Regions from separate parts of the Homo sapiens genome. Here all the other regions are linked to region 2. Evidence: promoter capture Hi-C in human tissues and cell types (Jung and others, 2019). All regions are on one chromosome and are shown on one strand. Each heading gives the region's core, a stretch centred on a gene start or on the middle of the fragment in contact. The rest is flanking DNA. Distances are from core to core; before and after follow the strand shown.

Region 1 (2,700 bases), core at 25-2,524, 550 kb before region 2:
ATCTTGGTAACCTTAGGCCATTGCTAGTATAGATAGATCATCCTGTTTCACTTGCCTCTGTGGTGGCTCATTAATCTATTCGTATCTACTTAAACAATAGAATGTCTTCAGAAATTGTGTTGCCAGTTGGCTACAACTTTGTAGAAGTTGGTATTGATTACCTGAAATTATTTTTTACCTTTAGAGTACTGATTTAGATGCTTGTTAGAGTTGAGCCCATCTCTAATAACTTTGTTAGAGGGAAAGAGAGTATCAGGTAAAGTTTAGGTTTAGTTTTACTTTTTATTATTATTGTTTTCTTTTGTTTTTTGTTTTCTTCCTCTGGTTTTAGAGGGAGGATCTCTGTTGCTCAGGCTGGAATGCAGGGGCGTTGATTATAGCTCACTGCAGCCTTAAATTCCTGGGCTCACGCAATCCTCCCATCTCAGCCTCCATGAGCATGTCTAAGAATATAGACATGTGCCACCATGCCCAGCTAATTTTTAAATTTTTTGTAGAGATGGATATTTACATAGTAATCAAGTTTGTATTACATCCTGGGCCTTGAAAGATGGCCAAAAAAAAAACCAAAATTGAGTGTTACACAAATCACCTGTAGCTTGCTCATTGATCATTAGTGTTATTACACTAAAGTGATAAAAAGTAATTTATGCACAAATTTTTAAGGCATTTTTGTCCTTACTATTTTCTTACACATTAGGTATAATGAGCTATGGTAAAAGAGCAGTAATTTAAAGCATCTGTGAGAAATCTAACCTTTCCTTTTGTAACCTTTTGGATTTAATTGTGATTTTTGAGAAATGGAACAATCAGTAGTAGTTATGAAAATTGTCAATTTGGCTTATGTTAAATATATAGATTAATTTATAAGTCCATCGAAAATATGCAGATGACTAAAATAATACAGCAATTCTAAAATAATACTTGTTAGATAGACTAGCACTTTCTGGGGTGTGGCGGGGGCAAGTAAGTTAAAGTAAATCCTTGCCATTCTGTTAATGATACCACTATTCTCAGTCATTAGATTGGACAAGAAATAGCAGTTTTGGTATTCCACCCTTCTTGGGCTCCCTGCCATGTTCAAGCACTTTAACTTGAGGTCTTAATTCTGTGATTGTGAGAATAACTCTAGACCCATGGTGTCCCTGTAGTCCTCAGTGCGATCTTATGGCTGTGGTTTGGCCTTTCTTCTGACTCCTTGAGATATATCCTGATCCTGTACATTAGAAAGTGGCTGTTGGAGAACAACACTGCAAATACAACTTTGCTTATAGTTGTATTTAGTTGCTTATAGAGCAACCTTGAGATTCTGTCAGGGCAGTGCTAGTGAATTTCCTCTCCCTTTAATAGATTCGGCTGCTGAGTTCATCAGAAGCTGGTAAGTAGTGCAGGTCAGAATCTGCTCTTACTTGTGCACATGCACCACCACCACCTTATCTCACACCAGTGTGATGAACAAGACTAGATTTTGTTTTAAGTTTTACATAATGCCTTACTTCCCTTTTTCTGTCACCAGACATTCAGCCACTTATAAAAATCACTCTCTCCCCAAACTTGTGATTATCTCCTTTCTCTCGGTAGTTAAAATGAGCACGGTTCAGATTCAATGTGGCATTTTGAAAGCCAGGGGACACACCCAGGGTGATTATGGTACTCAGGTACAGGAGAACAGAAAGACAGTTCTCTGCTATGGAATATTAATTATAAATATTAGCTCCCTTTTTACTAGATTCAAAGGCAGTTCAGTGGTTACTTTAAACCAAGGCCAGGTGTGGTGGCTCACACCTGTAATCCTAGCACTTTCGGAAGCCAAGGTGGGAGGGTCACTTGAGCTCAGGAGTTTCAAACCGTCCTGGGCAAGAGAGTGAGACCTGCCTCTACTTAAAAAAATAAAAAATAAGGCCAGACTTGGTGACTCACGCCTGTAATCCCAGCACCTCGGGAGGCCAAGGCAGGCAGATTGCTTTGAGCTCAGGAGTTCTAGACCAGCCTGGGCAACATGTTGAAACCTTGTCTCTACAAAGGATACAAAAATTAGCCAGGTGTGGTGGCACACACCTGTGGTCCCAGCTACTTGGGAGGCTGAGGCTGGAGAATTGCTTGAACCCAGGAGGCAGAGGTTGCAGTAAGCCAAGATCACACCACTGCACTCCAGCCTGGGTGACAGAGTGAGACCCTGTCTTAAAAAATAAATAAATAAATAAATAAAAATAAACTGAATTCATGTTTCCACCTTCCCCAAAGAGACGCTAAATTCTTCTTTTTCCCTCTCTAATTAGTGTTGAAATTGATGTTACATCTCCCTTTCTTCTGGTTTATTTTGTTTGAATTTATTTTTTCTCTTTTCCTTACGTTTGGTTTTATGCATAATGAAGTTTGAGGCTATTGGTGCAGGTATTCAGTAACATAAAACTTCATTTATCTGGGTTTATAAGTCAGAATCCTATTTCACTTCTCCCTGAGCCTGAGGGGAAATCTTAGAAAAGTCTATTGAGATTTAGTTATAATAAACATACTACTTAATTACTGCACAAGCTTAACCACAGAGTTTGCTGTCACAATATAAACACCCAGATGAGGGCCTGAAAGAAACCTCCACACTCCCACCCACATGAACTCTGTTGGGTGTTTTCTTCCTGCCCTCTATCTGGCAAACAAAAATATGGAATCTGTTCCAAGAATTTCTGTGAAACCAGTTTA
Region 2 (2,700 bases), core at 149-2,648:
GGGTGATGAAGCGCTGTAACTCTTTGACCTTCTCAGGGTCCAGAGGAGGACTTGCTGGCACAAATAACCCAATGGAGGCTTTCGAGCACGGCTGGCTGGGGTTTGCGATCCAACGGCCTTTTGCTGACCTGAAAGTCAACGCAAAGCTCATCTTCATTCTAGAGAAAAAGAAGCCTCATGTGAGAAACTGGGGTGGTTTTTTTTTTTTCTCATTTTTTGTTTGTTTGTTTTCGTTTTGTTTTTTGAGACAGAGTCTCCCTCTGTTGCCCAGGCTAGAGTACAGTGGCATGATCTTGGCTCACTGTAACCGCCGCCTCCCGGGTTCAAGTGATTCTCCTGCCTCAGCCTCCAGAATAGCTGGGACTACATGGCCACCATGCCCGGCTAATTATTGTATTTTTAGTAGAGGCAGGGTTTCACCATGTTGGCCAGGCTAGTCTCGAACTCCTGAGCTCTAGTGATCTGCCCGCCTCGGCCTCCCAACGTGCTGGAATTACAGGTGTGAGCCTCTGAGTCTGGCCCTAATGAGTCAGGTTTTGTTTGATTTTGTTCATGTAATTAAGCACACACACGCATTCCTTTTATTTTTTCATTTCCCCCTTATTTTAGTTTACCCTCCACTGCAAGCTCTGCTACTTGGACACATCAGAGAGACAAGACCCCTGCCCGTCAGCTTTTCTAGCTGTAACAATAGAGGGCCGGGTGCGGTGGCTCACGTCTGAAATCCCAGCACTTTGGGAGGCCGACGCAGGCAGATCACTTGAGATCAGGAGTTCGAGACATGCCTGGCCAACATGGTGAAACCCCGACTCTACTAAAAATACAAAAAAAATTAGCCGGGCATTGTGGCACGTGCCCGTAATCCCAGCTACTAGGGAGGCTGAGGCAGGAGAATTGCTTGAACCCGGGAGGCGGAGGTTGCAGTGAGCCGAGATCGCGCCGTTGCACTCCAGCCTGGGCGAAGAAGCAAGACTCCGTATCAAAAAAAAAAAAAAAAAGAAAAAGAAAAAACTTTGACATATTATTTGACACAATGCAATGCATAAATCCTCTAGTGACATGCACCCCGTATGTAAACATTATTTTATGTTTGGCTTTCCAGATCTGAGATCAGGACCCCGCTTTCTCCTTGACATTCCACAGCAAAACGTGAACAGCTGAACAAACACACAGTCCGGTTTCCCGAGACCAAAGGGTCAGGGGAAACCCCCGCTGAAAACGTGCATCAGTGGAACAACTACTCTCTTCCAGGTCCCACCGAGGGCAAAGAGGAGAAATAGAATCCCTCACAAGAAATCCACAACTTCTAGAAATCCGCAGCACACACAGAACACACTTACCTCTCACAGCTCTACGGACACTTCACACCCCACAGTGGGACCGTCTGATTGCATTTGCATTTTGGGACATGTAGTCCAGAAAGCTTAAATGATGCGAGAAAAACCACAAGTCCCACAATCCTCCGCGTCTCGCAATTGACAGCCCCAGATCATCCAGGAACGCCCCCTGTCGGCTCTTTCTGGTCAGAGGTTCCCCCGTTAATATAAAAGCTTTTAATCATGGATTTTTTTCTTTGTTTTCAATTTCTGTGGGCACTTAGTAGGTGTATATATTTATAGTGTACATAAGATTTTTTTTCTTTTTTCTTTTTTTTTTTTAAGACGGAGTTGTTGTTTTTTTTTTTTGAAAAAACTCCAGTCTGGAGTGCAGTGGCACGATCTCGGCTCACTGCAACCTCCCTCTCCCGGGTTCAACCGATTCTCCTGCCTCAGCCTCCCGAGTAGCTGGGATTATTTTTGTATTTTTAGTAGAGACGGGGGTTTCGCCATGTTGGCCAGGCTCGTCTTGAACTCCTAACCTCAGGTGATCCGCACGCCTTGACCTCCCAAAGTGCTGGGATTATAGGCGTGAGCCACTGCGCCCGGCCATCTTTTCTCTTATTTTTTGTCTTTTTTTCTTTTCTCTGTGCCTGTCTATGCTTTACCCACATGAGATGTTTTGATACAAACATGCAATGTGAAATGAGCACGTCATTAATCATGGATCTAGATTTGACTTTTTTTTAAAGTTTTTGTATTTTTAGTAGAGACAGAGTTTCACCATGTTGGCCAGGCTGGTCTCGAACTCCCGACCTCAGGTGATCCGCCAACCTCGGCCCCCCAAAATGCTGGGATTACAGGCCTGAGCCACTGTTCCCGGCCTAGATTTGACTCATTCTAAACATCAGAGTTTGTGATCCTTTTCATTCACAACGACAGTATCAAGTTATTTGCTATTGGTAAAATACCTTGAACTTGTGAAGAAATGTGTTTATACATATCTGAAAAAGTGATAGTTTGTTGTTGTTGTTGTTGTTGTTTGTTTGTTTGTTTTTGAGACGGAGTCTCGCTCTGTTGCCCAGGCTGGAGTGCAATGGTGCCATTTCGGCTCACTGCAACCTCCGCCTCCCGGGTTCAAGCAATTCTCCTGCCTCAGCCTCCTGAGTAGCAGGGATTATGGGCGCATGCCACTACGCCCGGTTAATTTTTTTATTTTTAGTAGAGACAAGGTTTCACCATGTTAGCCAGGATGGTCTTGATCTCCTGACCTCGTGATCTGCCCACCCTAGCCTCCCAAAGTACTGGGATTACAGGCGTAAGCCACTGTGCCCAGCCAAAAGTGATGTTTTTACAGTTAATATGAAGCCAAATATATTATACC
Region 3 (2,700 bases), core at 15-2,514, 600 kb before region 2:
TCGGCTCACTGCAAGCTCTGCCTCCGGGGTTCACGCCATTCTCCTGCCTCAACCTCCTGAGTAGCTGGGATTACAGGCGTCCACCACCACGCCCGGCTAATTTTTTGTATTTTTAGTAGAGACAGGGTTTCACCGTGTTAACCAGGATGGTCCCGATCTCCTGACCTCATGATCCACCCACCTCGGCCTCCCAAAGTGCTGGGACTACAGGCGTGAGCCACCGCGCCCGGCCAAAAGAATGACTTTTCTTTGATAAGCCTCTCACCCTTTCAGACGGCCTCATCCACTCCTGGGGAAGCATTCCGCAGTACCTGGGGCCTCAATTAATCTCTCTCTTCTCTCTCCATCTAAGCTCCAGATTCACTTTGTTGGTCTCTGGTCTAGCTCTACCGTGTTTATTTCTGTGCCGGTTTCCAGACCTCCAAATGGACGGTTTCCTGAGCCTTCTGCCCTTGCTGTTCCCTCTGCCAGGAACTCTTTTCCTGTGGATCTTTGCAAGGCCAGCTCTCTGTCATCATTCAATATCAGCTCAAATGTCACCTCCTAAGCGAGGCCTTCCTTGACCACCCTATCTAAAGTAACCCACACCTCTGCTCACTCTCTGTCCCCTCACCTTGTGTTACAAAATGTGTTTTTGTAAAACTTAGCAGCATCTGAAATTATCTTATTTGTGGGCTTGGACTATGTCTCTTCCTTTAGAATGTAAGCTCTAGGAAGGCAGAGTGAGTTGACACATGGTTGGCACCCAACAAATATCTGTTGATTGATTCTGTGAAGGCAAGCGTGGGGTATTCGACTTGGTGCCGGGCCTGGGCGCAATAAAGGTTGGCTGCCTGGAATATTTGCTACCTGAATGAATGAACCAAGGAACATACGAACGAAGGAATGCAGCCCTCTGCCTGTTGACTGACAGGTTGACTGACAGTTGGGGGGCCCGTGGCCAGCAGACTGTTGACTGACGGTTGACAGCTGAGTGGCAGCCAACAGACGCGCATCGGGGTTCCCGATTGGCTGGTGCAGCAGCCCCTCGGAGAGGGGCGGAAGAGGGTACCCGAGGCGACATCTCCGCGTGGGGAGGGGGGCGGCACCAGGCAGCGGGAGGCGGCCCAACTGCTCTGGCTGTGCGAGCAGCAGCCGCCTAGAACCCAGGAGCCGACGTCTCTGCGCATGGGCCCGGCTCGAGGGGCGGGGCGCGCATCACGTGAGCGTGTTTTGGGCACGTGACCCGCGCGGGGCCAAGGCTCGCCCCCGCCCCCGCCCCTCCTCCCCTCGGCGGGTGTGATCGAGTGGCCTCGCCTCATCGCCTAGCGCCCCCCTCAGTCGCCGCCGCCTCCGCCCGCCGGCCATGTCCCCCGGCCGCCGCCGCCGCCGCCCGAGCGCGGCGCTCCCGCGGCCCCGCGCGCAGTGAGCGCGGGCCCGTCTTGCCGTTCGCCCGCCCCAGGGCCCCCTTGTTCTCCGCGCCGCCGCCGCCGCCATGTTGGGTTTGGAGCTGCAGCGGAGCCGCCGCCGCCGCCGCGGGTGAGGGAGGCCGAGAGCGGAGCCCGCCCCGCCCCGGGGCCCAGGGAGCGGGGCCGCTTCGGAGCCCGGCCTCTCCCCGCCAGCCGCCTTCCCGGCCCGCCGTGCAGCCAGCGAGCCAGCGAGCGAGCAAGCAAGCAAGCACCGGACCCCGGCCGCGCCTTCAGCTACGGCCCGAGCGAGCCCGCCGCCGCCGGGCCCGGCCACAGCCTGCAGCGGAGCCCACGAGAGGCAGCGCCATGGCGGAGCAGACCTACTCGTGGTGAGTGCGGGGCTCCGGGAGGCCGGGAGGCGGCAAGGGTGGGGGTCGGGGCGCCGGCGCGGCCCGCCGAGGGGAAGAGGAGGAAGAACAGGTGCGTGTCGTGGGGGGGGGGCGCGGGTTGGGGTGCACGCCCCCCTCTTCCCCACCGGAGGGGGCGGCTGGCGCGCACGGAGGGCGGTGAGTGGCCGGGGACCTGGCGTCCGAGAAGGGGAATGGAGGAGGAGGCAGCGGCGGATGTCATCTGGCTATGGGCGGAGCAGGTGATGGAGAAGGGGAGCATGACCCCGGGGGTGGGAATCCCACGGATGGGAAGTTGAATCCGACAGGCACCCCGGAACTGACTCGTGGGGGTGTTTCCTGGGCAGGAGGACTCGAAGGGGTGGAGAGAGGCAGGCCAGGGCAAAGGTGGGCCGCTGGGCTGAGAGGAAGCTCTAGTGAGAACAGGTGATAGAGGCAGAACTTCTAAGTTGGGAGAGTGGAGCGGCCGCCGCTTGGCTCTGGGACAGGGAGCGCAGGGAGAGTTGGTGAGGTGGGCAGAGGCCCGGGAGTGAGGGGAGGAAAACTGCGGGGGTAGAGTCCACGAACCTTGGAGGGGAGTCACTGGTGAAGAGGTTGGAAGAGGAGCCTGAAGAACCTGTTTCCTTTTCCTTCTGGAAAAGGAATTCGTTGGTGACAGTGGGGCATGGGCAGAGTCTTTGTAAGGGTTGGTACTATTATTTTCAGAGGAATGGCGCCCAGGGCCAAGTGTGGAGGTGGAGGACCTGCAAGTTAAGTTCATTTCTGTGGGGCTTTTAAAGTTAGTAAGTAGCTCGTTAAGGGCCGAGAAGCGAGAAGCTACTGTGTAGTTTATGGGGTGACAACCTACATATCCGGAGAAGGGAGTGCCAGGGTTTGGGGGAAGGAACATGAGGGGTCTCCCTTTA

What was found. The method cuts DNA at HindIII sites, captures the fragments that hold promoters and counts their contacts. A contact is called where the count stands out against the background at its distance.
Region 1: a fragment that was not itself captured here is called in contact with the fragment with the promoter of SIRT4 in region 2 in 1 of the 25 tissues and cell types used here (hippocampus).
Region 3: a contact is called between the fragment with the promoter of SPPL3 here and the fragment with the promoter of SIRT4 in region 2, in 2 of the 25 tissues and cell types used here (hippocampus and psoas muscle).

What each region holds. Positions count from the first base shown.
Region 1 is chr12:120,846,794-120,849,493 of GRCh38, reverse strand. The region is part of intron 1 of SPPL3 (signal peptide peptidase like 3); the gene reads left to right. Among named protein-coding and RNA genes, the nearest start is that of SPPL3, 56 kb to the left of the region's middle. The HindIII fragment of the contact is 3,937 bases long and covers 1-2,700 here.
Region 2 is chr12:120,301,019-120,303,718 of GRCh38, reverse strand. It overlaps SIRT4 (sirtuin 4), which reads right to left and starts at 1,398. Exons shown (of 4, transcript NM_012240.3): 1 at 1,341-1,398; 2 at 1-158. The coding sequence starts at 157. The HindIII fragment of the contact is 7,036 bases long and covers 1-2,432 here.
Region 3 is chr12:120,902,922-120,905,621 of GRCh38, reverse strand. It overlaps SPPL3 (signal peptide peptidase like 3), which reads left to right and starts at 1,264. Exons shown (of 11, transcript NM_139015.5): 1 at 1,264-1,777. The coding sequence starts at 1,755. It overlaps XLOC_009911 (a long non-coding RNA gene), which reads right to left and starts at 927. Exons shown (of 2, transcript NR_131215.1): 1 at 850-927. RefSeq lists silencers at 1,065-1,424, 1,505-1,724, 1,865-1,914. The HindIII fragment of the contact is 15,749 bases long and covers 1-2,700 here.